2 separate regions of the Homo sapiens genome follow, and region 1 is linked to region 2. The links are contacts of gene promoters, found by promoter capture Hi-C in blood cells and fetal thymus (Javierre and others, 2016). All regions are on one chromosome and are shown on one strand. Each heading gives the region's core, a stretch centred on a gene start or on the middle of the fragment in contact. The rest is flanking DNA. Distances are from core to core; before and after follow the strand shown.

Region 1 (6,247 bases), core at 3,374-5,873, 510 kb after region 2:
TCCTACTTACTGCCTTTTTTCTAACTTCTTATGTTTACTTCTAGTTGGCAGTTGCAGGCCTCGATTACTCATTGACTGGAGCACTTTAGGAGATAATAGTGAAGTGAAGTCAGTGAAGTGTTTAGTCTTACAGGAAGAGAGGGGAGTAGCTCACAAGGGTCAAACTACTCTTTGGCAGAGTTTTTCAAGCTGTGTGTTCCTTACCTTTTAAGTGACTCAGCAGTTTGGGGCCTGGTATTGCCTCACCTCTTCTCGCCGCGAGCATTGACAGAAGATCTAGTTGAGTCCTACTTTGAAAGGAGTATTGCTTCTGACTGTGGAATTGGATTCTAGCTGTGTGTGTGTTATATCCTGTTACTGTTGAGACACAGAGGCGGGAGTCGGCGGGGGAAGATATGTGCTGAGATTAGTCAGCCTGCCCTCCCTCTCCCCCAAGAAACTCAGGCCCCATCTGGGGAGAGTGAGAACTTAAGAAACTTGAGACAGGGAAGGAGAGCCGGGAGCAGCCAAAACCTGCTAAGTCTCAGAAGACTGGTTTCTGCACAAGGGAATGGAAGAAGTGACTGGAGGTGGCTGTGGATTCAACTCTGGCCTGAGATTGATTCCCTTGAGATAAGTTGTTTTCTGGTGGGTGTGTCTGGGAGCATTGTGTTGGGAAGGGAATTCCTTTCTTTGGGAAACACTTTTTTTTTTACTTGAAGTGAAAGGTATTCAGACTTGTGTATTTCTTGTACCAAGGAGTGGGTGTTTATTGATAACTGTTTCTTTGGGTTCATCTGAAGTGGGAATCAGACTGGTAAATATCAAGAAAAACTGGGCATGGTGGTGTGGGCCTATAGTCCTAGCTACTCAGGAGGTGGGAAGATTGTTTGAGCCCAGCAGTTTGCAGCCAGCCTGGCAAACATAGTGAGACCCTGTCTCTTTAAAAAGAGAGAGAACGTAAGGAAGTAAAGGTGTTACACCTGTTTTGGCTGTCTGCCATATTCTCTTCCTTTCCTCTGAAAAAGGAGTGGGTGAGGGTAGAATCTGTAGAAGAAAAAATAAATTAACCAGAAAATATGTGTGAAAAAGGGATTAGAAAAGATGTAGGAATCTTGAAAAGTGTTCTGACACACTATGCTTAGTAATGATGATCTTGTTAAAATATCTAGTTTTTTATTGTTACTTTTTTTTTGCTCAGTTGCTAAGAAATATGCTGACCATAATTTCTAAACAGAAAAATCTCTGCACACAATATGCTAGGACAGACAATGGGACAGAATATATAAATTTAGGAATGTCCCAGAGAATCAGTAGTGTACCAAAAGAGGGATCCTAGCCCTTCAAATAATTCTCTGCAGTAAGAAAGACTGCTCTGCTCACTTCTACATTACACTTTCTTAATGATTTGTTTTCCTAGTAATTGTTGTTTATCTTTGAATCTAGTTCTTGACACTTAGGAAGAAACCTTTTTGAGGAAATTAAAAGCTGTTAGATTGGTATTTGAAATAACGAATTTGACAAGATGTCTAAGTTAAACCTAAGTTAAACAATATCCAGATAAGGCTGTGAAGACTATAATATCTGGCATGTTCCTCATGGAGCAGTGAAATTCCATGCCAAAGCCACTTACATTACTATACTGTGGGTCAAAACATGTCTACAGATTTTAAGGGACCGTGTTTCCTTGCATAGAACTTTCCTGGAGTAGCACTGGATACTTAGTTGGTGCCTAGCAAATGTGATGACTAAAGAATATAATGCATCACAGATATTATCCTGATCACCATTTCTTGGCTAAAATGTTGTAGTGGAATTCTGGTGGCTGTTAATTCTTTCTCATTCAGGAGATAGCAGGCAAAATTGGGTGGGCCCTGGGAAGGAGTGTAGCTGGGCTATTTAACATCTGAGAATATAGGATGTGTGTTTATGAAAGTAAACTCAGCTTCTAATGGTAAAAAAAAAAAAAATCAATTAGGATCAACTAAAGGAATAGCATACAATTTTTCTTCTCTTGAGGTATGTAACTTTTTTGGATTGTCTCTGATCCCCTTCTCTTGGTAAGGTCTGCACAATTCTTTCAGCTCACTTTGTCAGCAGACTTCCCACTAGGTAGTGCATATACCCCAAATTATTCGTTTGGTAGAGCTTTTCTTTACCATTCTCAGTATCACATGGAAGAAAGTCAACCATTGTACCTGCTAAGCTATTTGAAGAGGTGCTTTAAATAGCATGTTAAACTGGCCTGATATTTAATTGGGTTTTTAAGACACAGCAAGTAGACTTCTGTATTTGGGTGTGCTATTTGAAGAATGGGTCAATCTGACCTTCTAGCCTTTCATAAATATGCTCTTAGTGTAAGAATGGAACACTGGTATGCTTGTTCAGTTGTGGGTAAGGCTGTTTATGGGGTGGTGAGTTACTCAAGCATAACATCATTCTTTAACATAAGACTTTTTACTTAAAGATACTTTCTGCATTTCAGCCACTTTATTTCCTTTCCATTCCTTCTCTTCCCAATCCTACTTTTTACTTAGGTGTAGTATTCCTTGTAGATGTAGATTTGAAGAAAGGTGAAAGCACAGTAATTAAGACTTAATGTTTGGAAGAAATTATGATGATAGGAATTAATAGAAACAGAACAACTTTGTAGTCTTCCTTTTCGTCTTACCCAGATTATCATATTTGCCTTAAATGAGTGAGTCCAACCCAATCAGAAGGCTGTTGTTGAGATCTGGAGAGAAAACTTGTGATATCCAAAAGTTGCTTTTGGCAGCAGTGTTTATATTTTCAACGTGAGGGTGAACAATGCTCCAGGAGATACTTCACCAAGAGAAAACAGAGCTACTAGCTGTGAAGATAATCAGTGGAGCTAGCAGGTCTGGAGGAAACTGGCAGAGCAGATGTATTCCACAGCATCAGTTGTAACACACATTCTCTTCAGGCTGTAATTTGGGGTGGAAGAAAAGACCAGGTTTTCATGCATCTTTGTATTGCTGGGACACCTTATAAGTGGTGAGAATGTCAAACAGCTGCAAGAATACACAGTCCATTCATCCTTGCCATGGCTTGGGTTAACTACATTCTACCCACTTCAAATATGGACCATATTCATTATTTGAGAGATGGGGAGGTAGGGGCACTGCACTGGTTAGTAAGCTGCTAAGCTGCTTGCAACACAGTCCAGTATTTTTAGATGGGAAAGATTTTGCTTAGGTTTAGGCTACTGATGAGCTTTATTAATATAAGGGGAAATTATGACTATTCGGTTTTTAAGTTGCTGAAGAAACACATTTCTCTCTTGCCACAGCCACCTTTCTATATGAAAAACTGCAAGTGTTATTGCAGTTCCCTCCCCCACCCTCACCCTCCATGTACCTGGTATCTGGGAACATGCCCAGAACCCTTTGAAAAAAGGCGAACAGGGGAAGGAATCATAGCAGAGGGGAGAGTAGCTTCCAAATAGAATAGGCTGCATATGCCAGCAGCAGGGAGGCTGGTGGAGGAAGGGCTGCCTCTGGAGAGTGTTAAGAGGGGTTGATGGTCTCTTGACTGTGTATTTTTTTCCATCATCAAAATAACAGCATATTGAGTTGGAAGTCATTACCTTGGTCCTGGATTAATTTCTTCAGCAAAACTAGCTTTACTGACTGTAGAAATCAGTTTCCAATTTGTTTATATTAGCTGCTTGTGCCTAGGCTGCCCGCTTAAACCTGATTGCTGCACTGCAATCTGGTGCTCCCCTAGCTGAAGGGTACATGTGAAAGAGGAGGAGAAGCTTTTGCAGCTGTAACTAATGGGTAGTTTACTGTTCCTGGCTTTAAAGTGGCTGTAACCATGTTGCCAGTATTATACAGAGAAGATTTTAATCTGTAGTCATTTACATTTCCAGAGTATTTGCTAAAGACTTAGCTTAATGGATTCTCCAAGGGAACCTTTTCAGATTTAGTCAGATCGTGAACAGAATCTCAGTTCACATACTCAAACCATCCTGCTTATTTCAGGGGTGAAGTTTATTTTATTTTGAAGAAAGGGTTTATCAGAGTTTAAACAGGAGTTCGGGAGGAAGGTTTAAACCATGTAATAAAAGTGTTACACACTTTATAAATCTATAAATAATATCAATTGCAAGCTATTTGCTATTGATTAGAGCCAGTTTTATTCTTCAAAGAATTATCTAGTTCTGGCTTATTTCATTTAAGGAAGTTTTTTTTTTGGGTTTTTTTTTTTTTTTTTTGAGACAGAGTCTCACTCTGTCACCCAGGCTGGAGTGCAGTGGCACGATCTCGGCTCACTGCAACCACCACCTCCCGGGTTCAAGCAATTCCCTGCCTCAGGCTCCCAAGTAGCTGGGACTACAGGCACCCGCCACCAAGCCCAGCTAATTTTTGTATTTTTAGTAGAGACGGGGCTTCACCGTCTTGGCCAGGCTGGTCTCCATCTCCTGACCTCGTGATCTACCCAAAGTGTTGGGATTACAGGCGTGAGCCACTGTACCTGGCCCATTTAAGGAAGTTTTTAATACAAAGTTTACCAAGTCATTATTTTCTCCTTCCTTCAGATTAGTCCTAATGAGTTAGAATTTACTATAGTGTATGTGGGTTTTTAATTTTCTTTTTATCATTATATTCTGGTATTTTAAATTTTTAATAGGATAGGAGGTTCTAGAGATATTACATTGGCTTTGTGAAGTATAGACATATGGTTGGGCTCTGAGTATTGGCACCCTAATGCCCATCACCATTTCTAGGCATCTCTTCATAATTCTTTCAGAAAGCAAGACCATTTGCCAACTTTAGGAATGTGCTACAAGGGAATATTCTGAAACAAAAACCAAAAAACCCCAGTAGCACTATGAGATTCTGTTTTCTGAAAGATTTGGGAAGAAGGGTAAAGAGTTTAATCTGTCAGGGTTATAAGAGGGGAAAAAAACTTGATGGAATGTGAGAAAGATTTATAAAATTGAACATATACTAAACGAAATTGGTTCTTAACCTTAGCCCCTCCTCCCAAATCCTGCAGAAACAATTGGGAAGAGACAGTGATTGACGTGTTGGGAGAAGTCAGAGAGTAGCCTCGGCCTTCCCCCATTTCTGGTGGGAAAGTTGCTGGCTTAGTAGGAACCATGTGATTACATGGCTTTTAGGGAAAGACAATGTATCCTTAAAAAAAAAAACATTTCATGGATTTTCCTTATAAGTTTTCAACTTTTTGTCTTCCTTTTGTATAGCAAATCCAGTTTGCTGATGACATGCAGGAGTTCACCAAATTCCCCACCAAAACTGGCCGAAGATCTTTGTCTCGCTCGATCTCACAGTCCTCCACTGACAGCTACAGTTCAGGTAGGTGTGAATGAACTCCATGTCCTCTCTAATCTCTCTTCCCTGTTTGCTACCAGTGCTCTTCACTTAGCAATCTGAAAATACCTCATGTTATGACTGCCCACCTTTGTGCTGAAAACTGTTAGTGGCTGGGCAGTGGGAATGTTCTGCAGCCAAGCTAGTAGCTGGGGAAGCTTTTGTCGACTCGAGACTTTCTTCCCCCTGGCTGTCTGTGTGTGTGGTCTGTGGCCAGTGCCCAGTTGGTAGGACTGGGCTAGTTCCCATTCCCACATTGATCCGCCCATTTCAAAAGGAAGAAATCAATGCTATTTTGGCTGACAGAATTGGACTTAAAAAAGAAGTGCATTTTGAAGCACGATTTCTTTGTGTAAAATATACCCTGTCACCTATCTCTTTCTTTCTTGTCTCCAAGACTGCTTAGATTGTAACAATAAAATTAGTATTTTGGCTTCTCTTATTTATTAGGTTATTCTTTCTGTTGGAATATCCTCCCCTGTTAGACTCTGGAGCAGGAAAGATTCAGACTACTGTAATGTAACTCCAGCTCTGTTTCTTTTTAGTTCTCTCCTCCTGTCTTAACTCTCTGTAAATAAAGTCTTTTTCTGTTTTGTATTGTGTCTTTCCCAACTATAGAGCATGTATTAGAAAATTAGCATGGAAAAGAATATAGAATCTTGGCAGATGAATACAGGAGAAAACATTAGGGACATCTAATGGGGCATCCAATACAACCTTGTCATTGTTTAACTGAAGACTCATTGTTAAAAGATTAAGAGGTTACAGATTGCTATTAATGTCAGCAGAGATATTTGTACCAAAAGCCATTCATTGTCCTTTGCCAGAATACCTTTTGCATTGTATTATCAACATTAAGGATTAACATAAATGAAAAGCTGTTATATATGATCCTGGAGTGACAGATAAAA
Region 2 (7,048 bases), core at 4,459-6,958:
AGGAGTGCGACCTCAACAGGCAGTGTGGGGTAATAAATCCAGAGACCAAAAAGATCTGTACCCGCCTGTTGACCTGCAAGGTAACCCCCTTCCCACTGCACGGTGAGGGAGGACAGCACAGGGCTTGCCCACTCCTTCCCTGGGCAAAGAGAGGAATGTCGATGTTACTGAAGGTCCAGCTTAAGGGAGGGCAGTTAGGCCCACCCAAGGGAAGGGGAGATGGGTATGCCCCTCCTGGGCAGAAGGTGGGAACAGTGGGAAGGAGGGAGTTTCCAGATTCCCCCATCCCAAAGGAGGGTTTTGGCCCCATGGGGGAATGAAACAAAGACACATGAACACAGCTGCAAATATGCCCACCTCTCTCCCTGCCCCCCAACTTGCCCGGGCCAAAGCACCCTGCCGTCCCTCACCCCTTCTCAGTTCATACCTACTCCCCAGCTCTCCACTCTGCTGTATTCTAGATCCACTCAGTACACCAGCGCCGGGAAGTCCAGGGCCGGGCCAAGGACTTTGACGTGCTGGTGGCAGAGCTGAAGGCCAACTCCCGCAAAGGGGAGTCTCCCAAGGAGAAGAGCCCAGGGCGCAAGGAGCAAGTTCTCGAGCGCCCCTCCCAGGAGCTCCCCTCCTCAGTCCAGGTTGTAGCAGCGGTGGCTGCTCCCAGCAGCACCTTCTCTGTTCGTGCCAAGCAGACCTACCCATACTGTGCACTGCCCAGGTACGTCTAGAATCCAACCCCTACCTCACCTGGGGGTACTTGGCCCCTAAGCCATCAGGGGCCCCTGGAAACAGGCTCAGGGAGTGTCCTGGAAGAGGCACTCCCTCAGCCCTGAGTGTGGGGGTATTCCTGGGGCTCCTGACAGTGGTGTGGAAGCAGGAGACTCCCCTGTTTCCAACCAGGCATACCACAGCACCCCAGCCTCTCGGCAGTGTGCCAGATCCAACACTCAGGATATGAACATTTTCCCAGCTGCCTCCAACAGACCGAAACTTGTCACTGGGGAGCTGAAAGGGTCACACTCCTGGGCAAGGCAGCCCTATGTGTATTCACTCACTGGCCCCTTCGCGTGCAGAGGCTATGCCGGACCCCAGGGAGAGCCTGACTTGCTGAAGGAGACACACATGCATCTCTGCCTGTCACACAAGGGGCAGACACGAAACACAGGCTCAGCTCACAGACAGGCTCACAGGAATATGTGATGCAAGAAGGGGGTTGAGCGAGTTGACTGGGCTGACCAGAGCTGGGTACAGTTTTAACTGTGAAGATTTTCTGGAGGAGGCGGATCTGCAGCAGATTATCCCCTGAGGAGGAAGGGGCTGGGAGGTGAAGGGGCTGGGGAGAGAATCCCTTGGGAGCAGTCTCTCTGTCTCTTACTCTGTGAGCTGTGTCGTTCCCTCCTGTCCTTCCCTTCCCTCTGTCCTCTTCTGATTGCCCTGCAGGGTGTCTGCCCTGGTGCCCTGCTCTTTGAGCTCGGCAGGTTCAAGGATGCCCCTACTCTGACCCCACAACAGTCACATTCCCCTGGCATCCCTTTTGGCCCTTCCAGGTCCCGGGCCTCCTCCGAGAGTGAATTGGATGATGAAGGCCCCTGTGGTGGTGATGGGGACCCAGGCCTGTTCCCCTTCCCCATGCCCCGGGGTGGGACCCAGGCCTCCAGCGAAGAGAGTGAGGAGGAGGGGACATCTGACGACCTCCACCCACCCCCTGACTGCCATTATGCAACCCGGCCCCCACGGCCACAGGCGGTAAGGACCTGGAATAGGGGCCTATGGAGGGGGTGGCCCAGCACTCCTGGCCAACAACATGGGGAGGAGGCCAGATCCTGTGTGCAGATGCTGTCTGTGCACCCCAGACCCTGCCAACCATGCACCTTCCTTCTGCCTTTAGTTCTGCACCTTTGGGAGCCGGCTGGTGAGCCCAGGATGCTATGTGTTTAGCCGCCGGCTGGACCGGTTCTGCTCAGCACTCAGCTCCATGCTGGAACGGCACCTCAGCACACACATGTGGAAGTAAGTCTCTCGGACCCAGAATGGAAGTTCTAGAATGGAAATTCCTAGGTTCCAGACATACTTGGGCTTCAGAAGCCCTGATCTTTCCTGTATACCCATAGGTGTGCCTTGGCTATTTGCCAGCAGGACCCCAGATAGGGAGTAGCATGAAAAGGAGGTGGGAAAACTTGGCAGCCTAGAGTTTGGCTAAGGCAGGGCATGGAAGGGTGGTCTGGGGGTGAATCTAGACTTTCATCCATCACTTCCAGTACCTTTTGGGTAACTAGGGATAGGGGATGCCCAAACCAAGATTTAAAATGAAGTTCCTAGTGGGCTGCCTCCTAGTTAGTAGGTACTAGCTAATTCCTCTCCACAGGCACCCCTGTGTCTTCTTCCTAACCCTCAGTTCCAGCATCTCCCAGCAGATGGCAGCAACTCTGGGGCTCTGCTGACCATTTCTAGGTGGGGCAGAGAGACTGGAGTGTGTCTTGTGTTGGGGGAAGCTGTCTTGTTTCTTGGCAGTCACAGTGGGGCTTTCTTTTTGCTGCAGGAAGATCCCACCGGCAGCTGAACCTCCAGCTCACCTTGTCAACTCCCCGTTATCTGCTCCCCTGAGCCCATCCTCTACAGGCACCTGCCCCCGCCTTCCAGGTCCAACCCTGAGACCTGCCTGCCCAGCCTCCATGCCCCCCACCAAGGACAACCTTGTCCCCAGCTACCCTGCAGGCTCCCCCAGCGTGGCGGCTGCCTGTAGCCAGGCAGAGTGCATGGGCGGGAGCCAGGCTATCACCTCACCACTGCCTGCCAACACGCCATCCCCGTCCTTCAGCAAGCTGCCGCCTTCCAAGGCCAGCAAGTCATCCAAAGGCAAGGACGGGGTGGAGGTGGAGGCCCCTTCTCGAAAGCGGAAGTTATCCCCTGGCCCTACCACTCTTAAACGGACCTGCATCCTGGAGCCCACTGGAAAAGGGAAACCCTCTGGCTGTAGGGGCCTCTCGGCCAAAACTAAAACAGCCCTGAGCATGGGGCTTAATGGGACAATGGGGCCAAGAGTGAAGCGGGCAGGGCCCCTGGACTGTCGTGGCTCCCCTCATCAGCTCCCCACACCAGTCAAGGCTTCTCAGCTGGAGAACCGGGGAGCAGCTGGACACCCAGCCAAGGCCCTGCCAACCAACTGCCTCTCTGAGGAGGAGGTGGCCAAGAAGCGGAAAAACCTGGCCACTTATTGCCGGCCAGTGAAGGCCAAGCACTGTCAGGCTGGTGCCCCTGCTGATGTGGCCTGCTCTGTGCGCCGCAAGAAGCCAGGCCCGGCCCTGGCCTTTGAGGAGAAGTGCTCTACACTGAAGGTACCAGCCAGGCTCCCTGAAGATTGATGAGGGTGGGGCACACAGGGGGTACCTGATACAGAGAAGATGCTACATTGGTGTTTGTGCAGGGAAAGGGAGGAAGGGGAAGTTGAGAGAGTTCCTGGACTGTTTTCTTTAGGAAGAGGTAGGTCAGTTCTTAGCAAAGTGACTCCAGCTTTTTGCCTGGTGAACCTTCCCCTATCCCTAACCCTTTCCCTTGGGCTGAGGAGATGCGGCACCCCTCCACCCCTGCTTTTGCTATAATCAAAGGGCTACTTCTTTCTGAATTGGCTGTGACCCTCATTCCAGGTACTGGAGCTACCTCTGTTCCCTGAAGGAAAGGGAGTTTGAGTCCCTGGGTCACAGCCTAACATGCCGAGCAGCAAGGTGGGTGGGCTGGTCTCACTGGTTTTTCCTCTGGGCATCAGGGCCTTGAAGGGCAGGCACACAACCCCATGTCCACTTATGCACATGTGCCCACCTCCAGGTGTGCAGGTGACAGGCAAGTTCTCCAGGGTTTCCAGTAAAGCCTGCAGCCAGTTTTATTTGCCTCTTCTGGTGGGAGCCCTGGTGTAGTGTGCTATGTGCTCTCCATATGATCTCTGCCAGGAGGGACTTACTGGAGGTGGGACGGGGGTGCTCTCCTGGGTTAGATGTGGGCCTAATCATAAACCCTGTGTGTTCTCCAGCTTCACTACCCAGGCTGCCCCTGGTGAGCTGGCATTCATCTTCCCCCTTGCTCAGTTTTACTCACCAGGCCAGCAGAAGGAAATCAAGCTTTAGCCTCTGTAGTGCACACAGTTCACTGGGTAGGACAGCTGGTAGGCCCCCACCCTGACCCTTTCTCTCGCCTCTTGTCTTCCTGCAGTCAAAAGCCCATTAACGAGAAAGTGCCTGCCCACTGCAACGGAGCCGCCAGCACCTCCTCCCCTCCAGATCCGGGCCCCAGGCTGCTGCCGCTTTTTATAACTTTATATTATTTTTTTTTAAGAAAAAAAGCTCTTTAAAATACCTCAAGACTGTCTCCCTGTTCTGTTGCTGCTATGAAAATATAAAAACAGAAACATAGAAAAGGAAGGAAAAAAAATAACAAAATGAGTGTCCTTACTGTCCCCAGCCCTACCCTGGGAGGCTGAGATGATAGGCAGCCAGACTCCAGCTCCCATAGCTTGCCTGCAAAAGTCTCTTATGCTCATTATTATTATTATTGTCATCTTGTCATTTTCAATAGTGTGAAAAATGTTTGTGTCACTGGGGTAGTCTTTCCAGACAGGATGATGAGGCGTGTGGCTCTGAATGAGTAAGGCTTCCTGAGTCTTGACACCAGAGACGACTATGGTCCCATTGGGAAGAGAAACTCGAGAGGGGGAGCTGCACTTCTGGCTCTTTCTAGGATCCTTGCCCCGAGGGTCTGGGAATTGGCTTGTGACCCTTTTCTGGTCCTTCAGCAACCCTAGGCATCCATCCCTCCCTGAATTATTGCCTGCTTTTCTTCAGCTGTTCCTGCAGCCTCATTTTCTCAGCCACTTAGGGAGCTTGAGCTGGGTTGGTCATTGCTGTTGGGATATTCCTGTTTTCTATTGGACAGCCTTCCTTCCCTGCCTGTGGGTTTGCCTTTAAGGAAGGGGTAGAACCTTTCCCAGGGAGGCCTCCTTGGGTTGAACCACCCCTTTTTTGGAGGCAGGAAGGGAAAAGGCATCATCACTTGCAGAACTGGTGGTGTGGGAGGCCACAGGAGTGTGGGAGGCCTTGGTCCTTCAGGATCACCTGGCTCCTCAGGGCTGAGCAGCTGCTGAGGAGGCGGCAGGGCTGGGAGTGCCCTAGTTTTTCCATTTATCTCGCTGGGGACCACTCCCGTGCAGATGCGAGAGGAGACTTGCATTTCCCTCCTTTGGTCCACCAGGTTCAAGGCACTATATTTTGGCGATGTCCTTTCCTATTCTCCTTGCTCTTAGGCATGGAGGAAGCTTGTTCCCTGAACAAGACAAAATGAGGTGACAGGAGACAGTGCACAGCCAGGGAAATCCAGTACTACTAGAAATCGGCTCCAAACACTTGTTTCACAGTCTTGGTTCAGCGTACCAAGTGTGTGATTTGGGGTTTCACTGAAATCGTTTGCCACAAAAGTAATTTCCACAGGCTGCTTGGGATTTAGGCCCTTGTAGACAGACACACAGATACAAATGAAGGTGGGCTGGGAACTGTTCGGTCCCCTTCTGCCTCCGGGCTCTCGCGGGAGCGGGCCTCTCCGGGGCACTCGCGTTTCCCCCCCAGCCCCCAGAGGGCGCTGTGGGCCACTCCGCCGCACTGCCGGCGGCGTCCCCGGGGAGGAGCCTCTCCTGCAGCCGCCACCGCCTCCGCGATCGCAAACCCGGAAGACGTGTTCGGGCAGCTGGAGTGTACGGGCCCGCGGGCCACGGCCATGCAGCCCCTGGAGGTAGGTCTGGTTCCCGCTCCAGCTGGGGAGCCGAGACTGACCCGCTGGCTGCGGAGAGGCAGTGGGATCTTGGCGCACCTGGTAGCTTTGGGCTTCACCATCTTTCTGACAGCGCTGTCCCGGCCAGGAACCAGTGAGTGTGCGGGGCGGGGTTGCGGAAGGGGGCGGAGTGGAGATGCTGGAGGGGCAGCGCTTGGGAGCCCCGGGAGACTTGGAGGAGGGACCCCAGCAGTAAAGGGGAGACAGAAACAGTGGAGGGATTTTGAGGGCCTGGTGGGGCGGGGCCCCAGGGATCCTGGAATAATGGGGTTTTGGGTGCTGTGGGGGAAGGGCAGACGATTGAACAGACCGAACTACTTCCTCAGAAACAGGTCCCCTGATGGAGGATAGAAGTGAAGGAGGCCGGGCGCGGTGGGTCATGCCTGAAATCCCAGCACTTTGGGAGGCCGACGCGGGTGGATCACTTGAGGTCAGGAGTTCGAGACCAGCCTGGCCAACATGGTGAAACCCCGTCTCTACTAAGAATACAAAAATTAGCCAGGCGTGATGGCGCGCGCCTGTAGTTCCAGCTACTTGGGAGGCTGAGGGAGGAGAATCGCTTGAACCCGGGAGGTGGAGGCTGCAGTGAGCCGAGATTGCACCACTGCACTCCACCCTGTGCGACAGAGCGAGACTCCGTATCAAAAAAAAAACAAAAAACAACAACCAAAAAAAACAAAAAACAAAAAAGGGGCAGAGGACTGGGCTGCCAGCTGAGAGGTGCTGAACGGGGAACCCGGGCCAAACTGTTGTATGTGTGTGGATAAGGAGGCCCTCTTGGTTGCTCACCCTGGGGCTCCTTGGCTGCTCCACTTTGTCCTTAGTTCCTGTGCCCGATTAGGATTGGGGATGGTACTTTTCTCCTGTGGCTAGATTCTTTGGGTTCCACCTAGCTACAGGGGCAGGAACAATGGTACCAAGCCCTCAGCCTGTTCTCTTTGATTCTTAGGTCTTTTCTCCTGGCACCCTGTATTCATGGCCTTGGCGGTGAGTTTAGGCTTCTATCTGATTTGTTTGGGTATTCCTCACCTCATTCTCCCAGGGAAGCACCCAGCTTTCAGAAAGCTCAGCCTTTCTAAGGCTAAGACAGGTGGAGGAAACATCTAGGGCTCATCTTTCCCTGCAGCCTATGGGATTGGGAAACCTGGAGGGCTGGGCCATAGGCAGTTGTCAGATGGTTGAAAAGGGCGGGAGGGCATGGAAGATAATTTCTTTCTCCATTGGGGCCGGAAAGGAGAAG

The links. Contacts are between HindIII fragments. The CHiCAGO score rates a contact against its expected background, and 5 or more counts as called.
Region 1: a contact is called between a fragment that was not itself captured here and the fragment with the promoter of CYB561D1 in region 2, in 5 of 17 cell types (naive CD4 T cells, M1 macrophages, M0 macrophages and 2 more). The highest score is 7.7, in naive CD4 T cells.

The regions. Positions count from the first base shown.
Region 1 is chr1:110,003,825-110,010,071 of GRCh38, forward strand. It overlaps AHCYL1 (adenosylhomocysteinase like 1), which reads left to right. Exons shown (of 17, transcript NM_006621.7): 2 at 5,210-5,321. Among named protein-coding and RNA genes, the nearest start is that of AHCYL1, 22 kb to the left of the region's middle. The HindIII fragment of the contact is 1,737 bases long and covers 3,756-5,492 here.
Region 2 is chr1:109,488,386-109,495,433 of GRCh38, forward strand. CYB561D1 (cytochrome b561 family member D1) reads left to right here and starts at 5,709. Exons shown (of 3, transcript NM_182580.3): 1 at 5,709-5,902; 2 at 6,758-6,795. The coding sequence starts at 5,755. It overlaps ATXN7L2 (ataxin 7 like 2), which reads left to right. Exons shown (of 11, transcript NM_001350175.2): 6 at 1-80; 7 at 462-715; 8 at 1,545-1,743; 9 at 1,886-2,007; 10 at 2,537-3,332; 11 at 4,201-4,349. The coding sequence ends at 4,215. RefSeq lists silencers at 2,472-2,521, 5,480-5,709 and enhancers at 5,780-5,859, 5,849-6,349. The HindIII fragment of the contact is 3,360 bases long and covers 5,298-7,048 here.